2 separate regions of the Homo sapiens genome follow, and region 1 is linked to region 2. The links are contacts of gene promoters, found by promoter capture Hi-C in human tissues and cell types (Jung and others, 2019). All regions are on one chromosome and are shown on one strand. Each heading gives the region's core, a stretch centred on a gene start or on the middle of the fragment in contact. The rest is flanking DNA. Distances are from core to core; before and after follow the strand shown.

The links. The method cuts DNA at HindIII sites, captures the fragments that hold promoters and counts their contacts. A contact is called where the count stands out against the background at its distance.
Region 1: a contact is called between a fragment that was not itself captured here and the fragment with the promoter of NDE1 in region 2, in 2 of the 25 tissues and cell types used here (bladder and heart left ventricle).

Annotation. Positions count from the first base shown.
Region 1 is chr16:14,993,402-14,999,740 of GRCh38, reverse strand. It overlaps PDXDC1 (pyridoxal dependent decarboxylase domain containing 1), which reads right to left. Exons shown (of 23, transcript NM_015027.4): 2 at 1,915-1,988; 3 at 1,336-1,401. Among named protein-coding and RNA genes, the nearest start is that of MIR1972-1, 14 kb to the left of the region's middle. The HindIII fragment of the contact is 6,885 bases long and covers 1,601-6,339 here.
Region 2 is chr16:15,646,581-15,652,687 of GRCh38, reverse strand. NDE1 (nudE neurodevelopment protein 1) reads right to left here and starts at 2,443. Exons shown (of 9, transcript NM_017668.3): 1 at 2,394-2,443. RefSeq lists enhancers at 1,741-2,240, 2,241-2,742. The HindIII fragment of the contact is 16,587 bases long and covers 1-6,107 here.

The sequences.
Region 1 (6,339 bases), core at 3,794-6,293, 660 kb after region 2:
ACAGATTTGCTTCAGTTGCCAAAAAATAAGTAATTTGACATTTTCCTTTCATTTACATTATGAAAACAATAAATCTTATCAAATTAAAATACCTCTTAGAATAAAACTCAGTCTACCAAATAGATGACAGGTTTCAAGAGTGAACTAAGTATGACACACCAGTTATAATGATGAATTTGTATATCACTTTTATTTTATTTGATAGGGTCTCGCCATGTTGTTCAGGGTGGCCTCGAACTCCTTGACTCAAGCCATCCTCCTGCCTCAGGCTCCCAAGCAGCTGGGACTACAAGTGTGCACCACGGTGCCTAGCTCCATGTATCACTTTTGACTCATGAGGTTGTATTAAATTGTTGGTTTTCTAAAAAATTTTTGGCCAGGTGCGGTGGCTTATGCCTGTAGTCCCAGCACTTTGAGAGGCTAAGGCAGGCGGATCACCTGAGGTCAGGAGATGGAGACCGTCCTGGCCAACATGGTGAAACCCCGTCTCTACTAAAAATACAAAAATTAGCTGGGCGTGGTGGTGGGTGCCTATAATCCCAGCCACTCGGGAGGCTGAGGCAGGAGAATCACTTGAACCTGGGAGGCAGAGGTTGCAGTGAGCCGAGATCACACCACTGCACTTCAGCCTGGCGACAGAGCGAGACTCTGTCTCAAAATTAGAGAGTGTCTCTATCACTCAGGCTGGAGTGCAGTGGTACAATCACAGATCGCTGTAACCTTGAACTCCTGGGCTCAAGTGATCCTCTGTCCTTGGCCTCCCAAAGTGCTGGGATTACAGATGTGACCCACTGTACTTAGCATCTATTAAATTCCAAATGGGAGAGGGAGAGAAGCCAGCAGGTGCAGCAATATCACCAACCAGCCAACGACACTTCAGTTTTCTAATGTTATACTGCACATAAGTCTATTTAAATTTGCTATGTGTTCATTAAAACTAAAACCATAAATCAATGATGATAAGACACTGGTTTAAGAAAAATGTAGGCCGGGCACAGTGGCTCACACCTGTAATCCCAGCACTTTGGGAGGCTGAGGTGGGCAGATCACCTGAGGTGAAGGTCAGGAGTTAGAAACCAGCCTGGCCAACATGGCAAAATCCCATCTCTACTGAAAATACAAAAATTAGCCAGATATGGTGGTGCACGCCTGTAATCCCAGCTACTCGGGAGGCTGAGGCACAAGAAAGAACTGCTTGAACCCGGGAGGCGGAGGTTGCAGCGAGCCCAGATTGTGCCACTGCACACCATCCTGGGCAACAGAGCACGACTCCATCTCAGAAACAAACAAAAATTTACACCTTAACTAAAGGTATGGATCCTCAGTGCCACCTACCTGCCCTGGAGTGGGCCTGGAATATCTCCGGATATGAGCTTCTTTCCATTTTCCTCTTCTGTTCTTCTAATTTAAAGAAAAGAAAAAGCTGTTCATTTGTTTCATCATACCAAATTTCTAACTCCTGAATATGCAAACATGACCATGTTGCCTATAACCTCCCAGTGACTGAGGCAGGATTTCAAACACATTTATCACATCTCCCTGCCTCCAGTTTCAGGTATCGTTTGAATTTCTGGAAAAGACAAGAATATGCAACAAAAAAGTTCCACCCACTTCTTGTTTACTTGGTGCTCTATATGACCTGAATATATAATAAGTATTTATAGAGTCAAATCAATATATTAAGTAAATGAAACTCTTAATAGACAGAATTAAATAGTATAAGTCTTTCCTCTCAATTTCAAAATCCTTTAATTACAAGGCACCTTTTACCCAAGACAAATACCAATTTTCAAGTCAGCCAAAGCTGTGTGTGACACTGTGAAGCCAAGAGGCACCTTTAACAGAAAGGACCCAGAGCCACTGGCTTCACAGCAGGCTGAACTCGTTGAACAGGGTCACCTCTGTCCTACTCACCTCTGACTGTCCTCCAGCATCTTCACTGCCTCCTTCAAGTTTTTTCCCATTTCAGCTAACGTGGGGTCTGCTATCTGGGAAACAAAAAAAAAAAGAAAGAAATTTTAATAATCCTCTATTACCTCTATAACACAATTCACCCAGAAAAATTAAGTGCATAATTTCTTCTGGATTTACTGTGAAATACATGATTTTAAAACTTGCAATAGTACAAAAGTATAACAGAAAAAGTAAAAATCTTCCAGCCCCACTTCCTAGAGGAAGCCGCTGTTTTTATTTTTATTTTTTGAGTTGGAGTCTTACTCTGTTGCCCAGACTAGAGTGCAATGGCATGACCTTGCTCACTGCAACCTCTGCCTCCTGGGTTCAAGTGATTCTCTTGCCTCAGCCTCCCAAGTAGCTGGGATTACAGGCACACACCACCATGCCCAGCTAATTTTTGTATTTTTAGTAGAGACGGGGGGGTTTCACCATGTTGGCCATGCTAGTCTCGAACTCTTGACCTCAAGTGATCTGCCCGCCTTGGCTTCCCAAAGTGCTGGGATTGCAGGTGTGAGCCACCGTGCCTGGCCTCCTTAAGTTCCTTTTGAATTTTAGTGCCATGTGTACACCTATCTCCCATCCAAAAAGTAAACAAAATAGAATTTAAATTTTTCTGCAGAATTATAATTTTTTCACCATTCATTCTGGGAAGAACCAGGTGAGGCCAAAACCAAGGACCCTACCCTTCTTCACTTGGTACCACCTTCCCACTTGACAAGTTACAAGTCCCATGGGGGTAACCACAAGGTCCCCTCAGCCTGGCCATTGTACACAGCCCCAGGGTACCGGCAACGCATGACCTACACTCCAAGGCAACTGGACAACTTGGTCTTTGGTAAGATCACTTATGATAACAAAGTGAGTCAGCTTCGTTTCAAACAAGCAATGTGGCAGTGATACAAAGACAAGCTATTTTGACAAATATTATTTTTGAGGCAGTCGCTCTGTTACACAGGCTGGGGTACAGTGGTTTGATCGTGGCTCACTGCAGCCTTGACCTCCAGGGATCAAGTGATCCTCCCACCTCAGCCTCCTGAGTACCTGGGAATACAAGTGCTCGCCACCATGCCTGGCTAATTTTCAAAATTTTTTTGTAGATACAAGGTCTCATTATGCTGCACAGGCTGATCTCAAACTCCTGAGCTCAAGTTATCCTTCTGCTGGGATTACAGGCTGAGCCACTGTGCCCGAACTTTTTGCAGAATTAAAACATACGCATTCCTTTCCTTTTCCTTTCTCTATTCTTAATCTCTGTAGTTATGTTTAGGGAGAAAATTCTTGTTGACTTCAATCTCTATGTAGTATGAGTTGTGTTATAACAATAAATTATATATTATATATTATATTACATATAATACATATAATATCATATATAAGTTATAGCTCTTTTGTTCCCCTCTTACTCTTCTAAGTGTGCTGCTTAAAGGAAGAGCTGTGTTTACCTTTTCCTATTGCTCACTGTATCTAGCAATATGTTACAGCATGGCATACAATACGTACGTATTTAAAACTGCATTGCCTCCTCAAAATTGTTTTTAAGAAATTCCACTCCATTTATCAATATAAGATTCAGAAATTGTTACATTCTAGAAGGGACCTAAGGGATCTAGTCCAGGGATTTTCCAGCTGTGTTCTCCTGAGCTTTAAGGTCCCTGGGAGGACTCTGAGAAGGAAGGGTTAGGTAAGCAGTTGGGGCTTCTAACTCCCTAGCAGATCAGCTCTGTTTTGTATAACAGGGTTTTGAGTAAAGTAGTAAAGTTTTTATTTGTAAAAAGTTTCATTGAATGATAAAGGGGATATCACCACCAATCCCACAGAAATACAAACTACCATCACAGAATACTATAAACACCTCTACGCAAATACACTAGAAAATCTAGAAGAAATGGATACATTCCTCAACACATACACCCTCCCAAGACTAAACCAGGAAGAAGTTGAATCTCTGAATAGACCAATAACAGGCTCTGAAATTGTGGCAATAATTAAGAGCTTACCAACCAAAAAAGGTCCGGGACCAGAGGGATTCACAGCCAAATTCTACCAGAGGTAAAAGGAGGAGCTGGTACCATTCCTTCTGAAACTATTCCAATCAATAGAAAAAGAGGAAATCCTCCCTAACTCATTTTATGAGGCCAACATTATTCTGATACCAAAGCCTGGCAGAGACACAACAAAAAAAGAGAATTTTAGACCAATATCCCTGATGAACATCGATGCAAAAATCCTCAATAAAACACTGGCAAACTGAATCCAGCAGCACATGAAAAAGCTTATCCAGCATGATCAAGTGGGCTTCATCCCTGGGATGCAAGGCTGGTTCAACATACGCAAATCAATAAATGTAATCCAGCATATAAACAGAACCAACAACAAAAACCATACGATTATCTCAATACATGCAGAACGGCCTTTGACAAAATTCAACAACCCTTCATGCTAAAAACTCTCAATAAACTGGGTATTGACGGACCATATCTCAAAATAATAAGAGCTATCTATGACAAACCCACAGCCAATATCATACTGAATGGGCAAAAACTGGAAGCATTCCCTTTGAAAACTGGCACAAGACAGGGATGCCCTCTTCTCACCACTCCTATTCAACACGGTGTGGGAAGTTCTGGCCAGGGCAATGAGGCAGGAGAAGGAAATAAAGGGTATTCAATTAGGAAAAGAGGAAGTCAAATTGTCCCTGTTTGCAGATGACATGATTGTATATCTAGAAAACCCCATCGTCTCAGCCCAAAATCTCCTTAAACTGATAGGCAACTTCAGCAAAGTCTCAGGATACAGAATCAATGTGCAAAAATCACAAGCATTCTTATACACCAATAACAGACAAACAGAGAGCCAAATCATGAGTGAACTCCCATTCACAATTGCTTCAAAGAGAATAAAATACCTAGGAATCCAACTTACAAGGGATGTGAACGACCTCTTCAAGGAAAACTACAAACCACTGCTCAATGAAATAAAAGAGGATACAAACAAATGGAAGAACATTCCACACTCATGGGTAGGAAGAATCAATATCGTGAAAACGGCCACACTGCCCAAGGTAATTTATAGATTCAATGCCATCCCCATCAACCTACCAATGACTTTCTTCACAGAATTGGAAAAAACTACTTTAAAGTTCATATGGAACCAAAAAAGAGCCCACATTGCCAAGTCACTCCTAAGCCAGAAAAACAAAGCCGGAGGCATCATGCTACCTGACTTCAAACTATACTACAAGGCTACAGTAACCAAAACAGCATGGTACTGGTACCAATACAGAGATATAGACCAATGGAACACAATAGAGCCCTCAGAAATAATGCCGCATATCTACAACTATCTGATCTTTGGCAAACCTGACAAAAACAAGAAATGGGGAAAGGATTCCCTTGTTAATAAATGGTGCTGGGAAAACTGGCCAGCCATATGTAGAAAGCTGAAACTGGATCCCTTCCTTACATCTTATACAAAAATTAATTCAAGATGGATTAAAGACTTAAATGTTAGACCTAAAACCATAAAAACCCTAGAAGAAAACCTAGGCAATACCATTCAGGACACAGGCATGGGCAAGGACTTCATGTATAAACCACCAAAAGCAATGGCAACAAAAGCCAAAACTGACAAATGGGATCTAATTAAACTAAAGAGCTTCTGCAAAGCAAAAGAAACTACCATCAGAGTGAACAGGCAATCTACAGAATGGGAGAAAATTTTTGCAGTCTACTCACCTGACAAAGGGCTAATATCCAGAATCTACAATGAACTCAAACAAATTTACAAGAAAAAAACAACCCCATCAAAAAGTGGGCGAAGGATATGAACAGACACTTCTCAAAAGAAGACATTTATGCAGCCAAAAGACACATGAAAAAATGCTCATCACCACTGGCCATCAGAGAAATGCAAATCAAAACCACAATGAGATACCATCTCACACCAGTTAGAATGGCAATCATTAAAAAGTCAGGAAACAACAGGTGCTGGAGAGGATGTGGAGAAATAGGAACACTTTTACACTGTTGGCGGGACTCTAAACTAGTTCAACCATTGTGGAAGTCAGTGTGGCGATTCCTCAGGGATCTAGAACTACAAATACCATTTGATCCAGCCATCCCATTACTGGGTATATACCCAAAGGATTATAAATCATGCCGCTATAAAGACACATGCACACGTATGTTTATTGTGGCACTATTCACAATAGCAAAGACTTGGAACCAACCCAAATGTCCATCAATGATAGACTGGATTAAGAAAATGTGGCACATATACACCATGGAATACTATGCAGCCATAAAAAATGGTGAGTTCATGTCCTTTGTAGGGACATGGATGAAGTTTGAAACCATCATTCTCAGCAAACTATCTCAAGGACAA
Region 2 (6,107 bases), core at 1,194-3,693:
CGTCTCAAAAAACAAACAAACAAAAACTTGGACAAAAAGTAAAATAGCTATTGTTCCAGGATAATTTTATTCTACTGAACCAAGTGACAGGGAAAGAATTTTTCCTACTGTGGTTTTGCCTCCTCCAACCCTTTTCAAACATTTCTTGAATACCTACTAAGTGCTGGGCACTGCTGAAGGAGGCAGACAAAAAGCACCCACATCCATTGCACGAGGTGCACGTGTAGTACTAACTGCAGGCACAAACTTTCTGTACACAGGAATGCTCATGTTAGGAAATTACCTTGTGAGGAAAAGGAGTGTCAATTCTCGGCTCACATTCTAAGGCAAAAGAACACACTTTGGGCTGCATGCAGTGGCTCATGCCTGCAAGTAATCTCAGCACTGTGGGAGGCCAAGGCAGGAGGACTGCTTGAGCCCAGGAATTTGAGACCAGCCTGGGCAACAAAGCAAGATTCTGCCTCTACATAAAAAATAATAATAATGATAGAGTCGGGTGCAGTGGCTCATGCCTGTAATCCCAACACTTTGGGAGGCTGAGGTGGGCAGATCACGAGGTCAGAAGTTTGAGACCAGCCTGGCCAATATGGTGAAACCCCATCTCTACTAAGAATTAGCCGGGCATGGTGGCACGCACCTGTAATCCCAGCTACTCAGGAGGGTGAGGCAGAAGAATCACTTGAACCCGGAGGACTGAGGTTGCAGTGAGTCGAGATCATGCCACTGCACTCCAGCCTGGACAAGAACAAGACTCCGTCTCAAAATAAATAAATAAATAAATAATAAATAACACACTTTGGAAACAAAAATAAGTCAAGTTAATAAACTGTTATCCAACATGGGATAAAATATATGAATCACAGGCCCCTGAGACTTCAGCGGCACAGATCATCTGCATTTAATCCTACACAAAACACACACTAAGAGGAAAGGCTCAAAATGGGTTGTAGGCCGGCACGGTGGCTCACGCCTGTAATCCCAGCACTTTGGGAGGCCGAGGGGGCAGATCACGAGGTCAGGAAATCGAGACCATCCTGGCTAACACGGTGAAACCCCATCTCTACTAAAAATACAAAAAATTAGCCAGGCGTGGTGGCACGCACCTGTAGTCCCAGCTACTCCGGAGGCTGAGGCAGGAGAATCGCTTGAACCCGGGAAGCGGAGGTTGCAGTGAGCCAAAATCGCACCACTGCACTCCAACCTGGGCGAGAGTGAGACTCTGTCTCAAAAACAAAAACAAAAAAAAAAAAAAAAAAACGGGTTGTATACCAACGAGGTGATGGAGGCTGGGGTGGTCGGGTAACAAGAGGCTTTAGGAGTAGCTGGGATCTAATTAATCTTCAAAACACCCGACCCATGTCCTAAAATGCCATCCTATGCTAGAATACACTATAACAAAACTAAAAATGATGAACCTGCCTAGGTCGTGCTGCAAAGGCCTTTTCTTTAGAAAGTTAAAAGGGGCCTGAGGCTCAAAGTAGAAATTAAGAGGCACAACCTGGTAGTAACCACGGACAAAGCAATCAAGGAAGCTCAGGCCCTCAGGAGGCAGAAAGCCTGAGATGGCTCGGAGAAGATAAAGTCGCCTCCCCAAAAGCGGTGTCAAGGTGACAGCGGGGTTTCCCAGGACCTCAGAGACTCAGGTCCTCAGTGAGCCCAGCCATCACTCAAGCTGCGGAATAAGCATTTTCGTCCTTTACCCAATCCCTCCCCAAAGTGCTGTCAGAAGAAACCTGAACCGTCCTGCGGCAGAGACGGGAGCAAAGCGGAGAGCAGACTGCCCCAAACGTGTTCCCGGAGGGAGGGAGCAGGGTGGGTTTTTGGAAAGAGGCCTGCAGGGGCGGGACAGTGGGTGTGAGGGCAGGGGCAACGCTGCAATCGAGGGGTCTGGGGTCGCAGAGAAGCGGGTGGCAGGATGGAGGAATAGGAGAGAGAGAGAAAAGAAACGAGGGTCATCTAGGAGAGGAGTATGGGGAGGAAGGAAGAGGAGAAAGAGGATGGAGCCTGGCAGCGGGGTTTGGGGACCGGCAAGGCTTAACCACCCAGGAAGTCCCGGAAGGAGAAGAGGGCAACGGGGTGGGAGAGAGACCAACGCAGAAAGAGAAACAAAGTTGCCAAGGGCGAGGGGCCAGCGCGAGGAACGCACCGGTGGCAAGGCACTCAGTGCCTAACTTTTTAGGACGGGAGGCTCCAGGGAGGCGGGATTTTGGAGCCCAGGGACCGGGGGAGTCCAGGCGGCCGGGAAGCGACGCGCAAGCGAGGGGCGTAGGGGTCCCTGCCAGGCGGTGGCCCGGGGTCCCGGGATCCTGGGGCGGGGCAGAGGAGCTTTTCAGCCGCGGTGGAGGTCCCCGGACAGCCACCCCGACCCCAGCCCCGCGCAGCGCCTCACTTACCCGAGCAGGGGCGGCGAGGCCAACGCGGCGGCGGCGGCAGAGGCGGCTGCGAAGGGCGGTGCGGCCCCGGCCCTCCGGACCCCGCCCCCGCCCCGGAGCCTGCGGTCGGCGCCTCCCATTGGCTGCTGCTCTACGGTACCGCGTCCGCCTCGGCCAATCAGCGCAGAGCAGCGTCGTTTGGAAACTTTTTTCCCAGGCCGGGCGCGGCGCGGCCAAGCGGCGAAGGCTCCTGGCCGGAGGGGGTTTGAGAGGCGCCGGCTGCCGGGCGCTGGGCTGCGGCGGGCTGGCGGGCATTGGAGATGCTGCAGAACGCTGCCTGGACACCCGGGAAACGGGTTTGGGCTTGCGGGCCGCGCATTTCAGGAAAATACGCCGGCCTCTCCTTCACTTCGATTGCATTTTCCCATTCTTGCACTTTCTCCAAATCAGAAGGAAAGACAAAGATTCAGGCCCACTGAAGCTAGCAGTGCCCCGTGCCCTTCCTACTCCTTTACACCAAAAGTAGAATCTTCAGCATCATTATCTTCTCCAGAAGCAGGAGAACGTAGTGCACCAGAATTTGGTCATAAACTTGGCTTTGAGTCCTAGTCCTGCCCCTTACTAACTGTGTGGTCTTGGGAAAGTTGTTTAGCCTCTATGACTCCGTTTCCCCATCTATAAAACGCCATTATGGGTCTGGCGCGGTGGTCACGCCTGTAATCCCAGCACTTTGGGAGGCCAAGGCGGGTGGATCACGAGGTCAGGAGTTCAAGACCAGCCTGGCACATGGTGAAACCCCGTCTCTACTAAAGATACAAAAAATTAGCCGGATGTGGTGGCACGCACCTGTAATCCCAGCTACTCAGGAGGCTGAGGCAGGAGAATCACGGGAAACCGGGAGGTGGCGGTTGCAGTGAGCCGAGATCACACCACTGCACTCTAGCCTAGGCGACAGGGCAAGACTCCGTCTTAAAGAACAGACAAACAAACAAACGACATTATGCAGAGGACTAAATGACTTAACAGCATTTGTAAAAACGTTTAGAACAGAAATTTGAACTTAGTAAGTACAATATATGTATTTGTTAAATGATCTTGATTTTGTTTATTTATTTATTTTGAGATGAAATCTCCCTCTGTCTCCCAGGCTGGAATGCAGTGGCGTGATCTCCACTCACTGCAACCTCTGCCTTCTGAGTTCAAGCAATTCTCCTGCTTCAGCCTCCCGAGTAGCTGGGATCACAGGCCCGCATCACCACACCCGGCTAATTTTTATATTTTTAGTAGAGACGGGGTTTCACCATGTTGGCCAGGCTGCTCTCGAATCCCTGTCCTCAGGTGATCCACCCACCTCGGCCTCCCAAAGTCCTGGGATTACAGGCGTGAGCCACCACACACTGCCTGAAGATCGTGATTTTTAAATGGCTGTGTGTGCCAGGCACAATTCTCACAGCAACCCTAATTGTTCACTAACAAATTAAAATTAAAAAATAATTTTTTTCTTTTCGAGACAGAGTTTCCCTCTTGTTGCCCAGGCTGGCGTGCAATGGTGCGATCTCGGCTCACTGCAACCTCTGCCTCCCAGATTCAAGCGATTTTCTTGTCTTAGTCTCCCTAGTAGCTGGGATTACAGGCGCCCACCATTACGCCCAGCTAATTTTTTGTATTTTTAGTAGAGACACGGTTTCACTGTGTTGGCCAGGCTGGTCTCGAACTCCTGACCTCAAGCAATACACCTCAGTCTCCCAAAGTGCTGGGATTACAGGCGTGAGCCATGTAACTCAGAAGGCAGAGGTTGCGGTGAGTGGAGATCACGCCACTGCATTCCAGCCTGGGAGACAGAGGGAGACTTCATCTCAAAATAAATAAATAAATAAAATCAAGCCACCATGCTTGGCTGGAATTTCTTTTTTTCTTTATTTTCTTCTAAAACATCCTGTCATAACATGTTCATTAACAAATACCGAACATTCTGGTTAGTGGGTACAAAAATAGAGTTAGAATGAATAAGATCTAGTATTTGGGAGCACAGCAGGGTGACTACAGTCCACAACAATGTATTGTACATTTTAAAATAACTAAAGGAGTATAATTGGAGTGCTTGTAACACAAAGAAAGGATAAATGCTTGAGGTCATGGACACCCATTTACCCTGATGTGATTATGATGCATTGCATGCCTGTTATCAAAATATCTCATGTACCCCATAAATATAAACACCTACAGTGTACCCATAAAAACTAAAAATATATATATTATTATCCAGCTTTTTTTTTTTTTTGTGAGACAGAGTCTCACCCTGTGACATAGGCTGGAGTGCAGTGGCATAATCAAAGCTCACTGCATCCTGGACCTCCCAGGCTCAAGTGATCCTCCCACCTCATCCTCCGGAGTAGCTAGGACCACAGGTGTGCACCAACACGCCCAGCTAATTTTTACATTTTTTTGTAGAGACGTGGATCTCACTATGTTGCCCAGGCTGGTCTTGAACTCCTGGGCTCAAGTGATCCTCCTGCCTCAGCCTCCCTCCCAAAGTGCTGGGATTATAGGCATGAACCACAGCACCCGGCATTATGAGCATTCTTCTGTACAATGCACCCTTACAGCACAGTGAATACAGTCAGACAAAGTACCTGTCCTCAAAGGGCTTATATTGTTAAGAGAGAAACATACTAAATCTATAAGCAGAAAAAGTAACGTCATTTCAGATACTGATAAGTGCTATGACTAAGGCAAGCCCATTTGATACAACGGGCTGGGAGGGGTCACTTCAGATGCTATAGTCAGGGAAGGCCACTGTAGAGAGGAGACCATGCAACTGAACCACAGGTGATGAACCACAGGAAAGCATTAAATTGTATCCATGTTAAAGATAAGAAAATAAAGGTGCAGGAAGTTAATTGAGTTGTCCGAGGTCTTACAACTAGTAATTAACAAATCAGGCTTCAGAGCTGGCTCTGACTCCTAAACCCTCCTTCTTCAGCACTATGCTAGAGGCAAAGAGATCTTAGCTATTACAGGATCTCCCACCCCATCTTGCCTTCCTGCTATCCTACAACAGCCTTTCTCAAATTCTACTTTGAACTCCTTGCTAATTCCTAAAAACTGCTTAGAGGCACAAAGGGGAACCCCACCACCTATCAACAGGTTTAAGGAAAGTACCAAATGTCTTTCAGGAAACTTCCCAAACATTAATGAATCATTTACATGCTGCTTCACACTTTACTACGTCTGATGCCTTCCCCCTTGGAATTTTATTTTATTTCGAGACAGAGTTTCACTCTGTTGCCCAGGCTAGAGTGCAGTGCTGCAATCTCGGCTCACTGCAACCTCCACCTCCCGGGTTCAAGCGATTCTCCTGCCTCAGCCTTTCGACTAGCTGGGATTACAGGTGTTCACCACCATGCCCACCTAATTTTTCTATTTTAGTAGAGGCAGGGTTTCACCATGTTGGCCAGGCTGGTTTTGAACTCCTGACCTCAAGTGCTCCACCCGCCTCAGCCTCCAAAAGTGCTGGGATTACAGGCATGAGCCACCACACCAAGCCTCCCCTTAGGAATTTTATTACTTATTTACTTATTCATTAAGATGGAATCTCACTCTGTCGCCCAGGCTAGAGTGCAGTGGTGCGATCTCGGCTCATTGTAACCTCCACCTTCCAGTTCAAGCGATTCTCCTGCCTCAGCCTACCAAGTAGCTGGTATTAACCCCCCTTGGATTTTTTTTTTCTTTTTT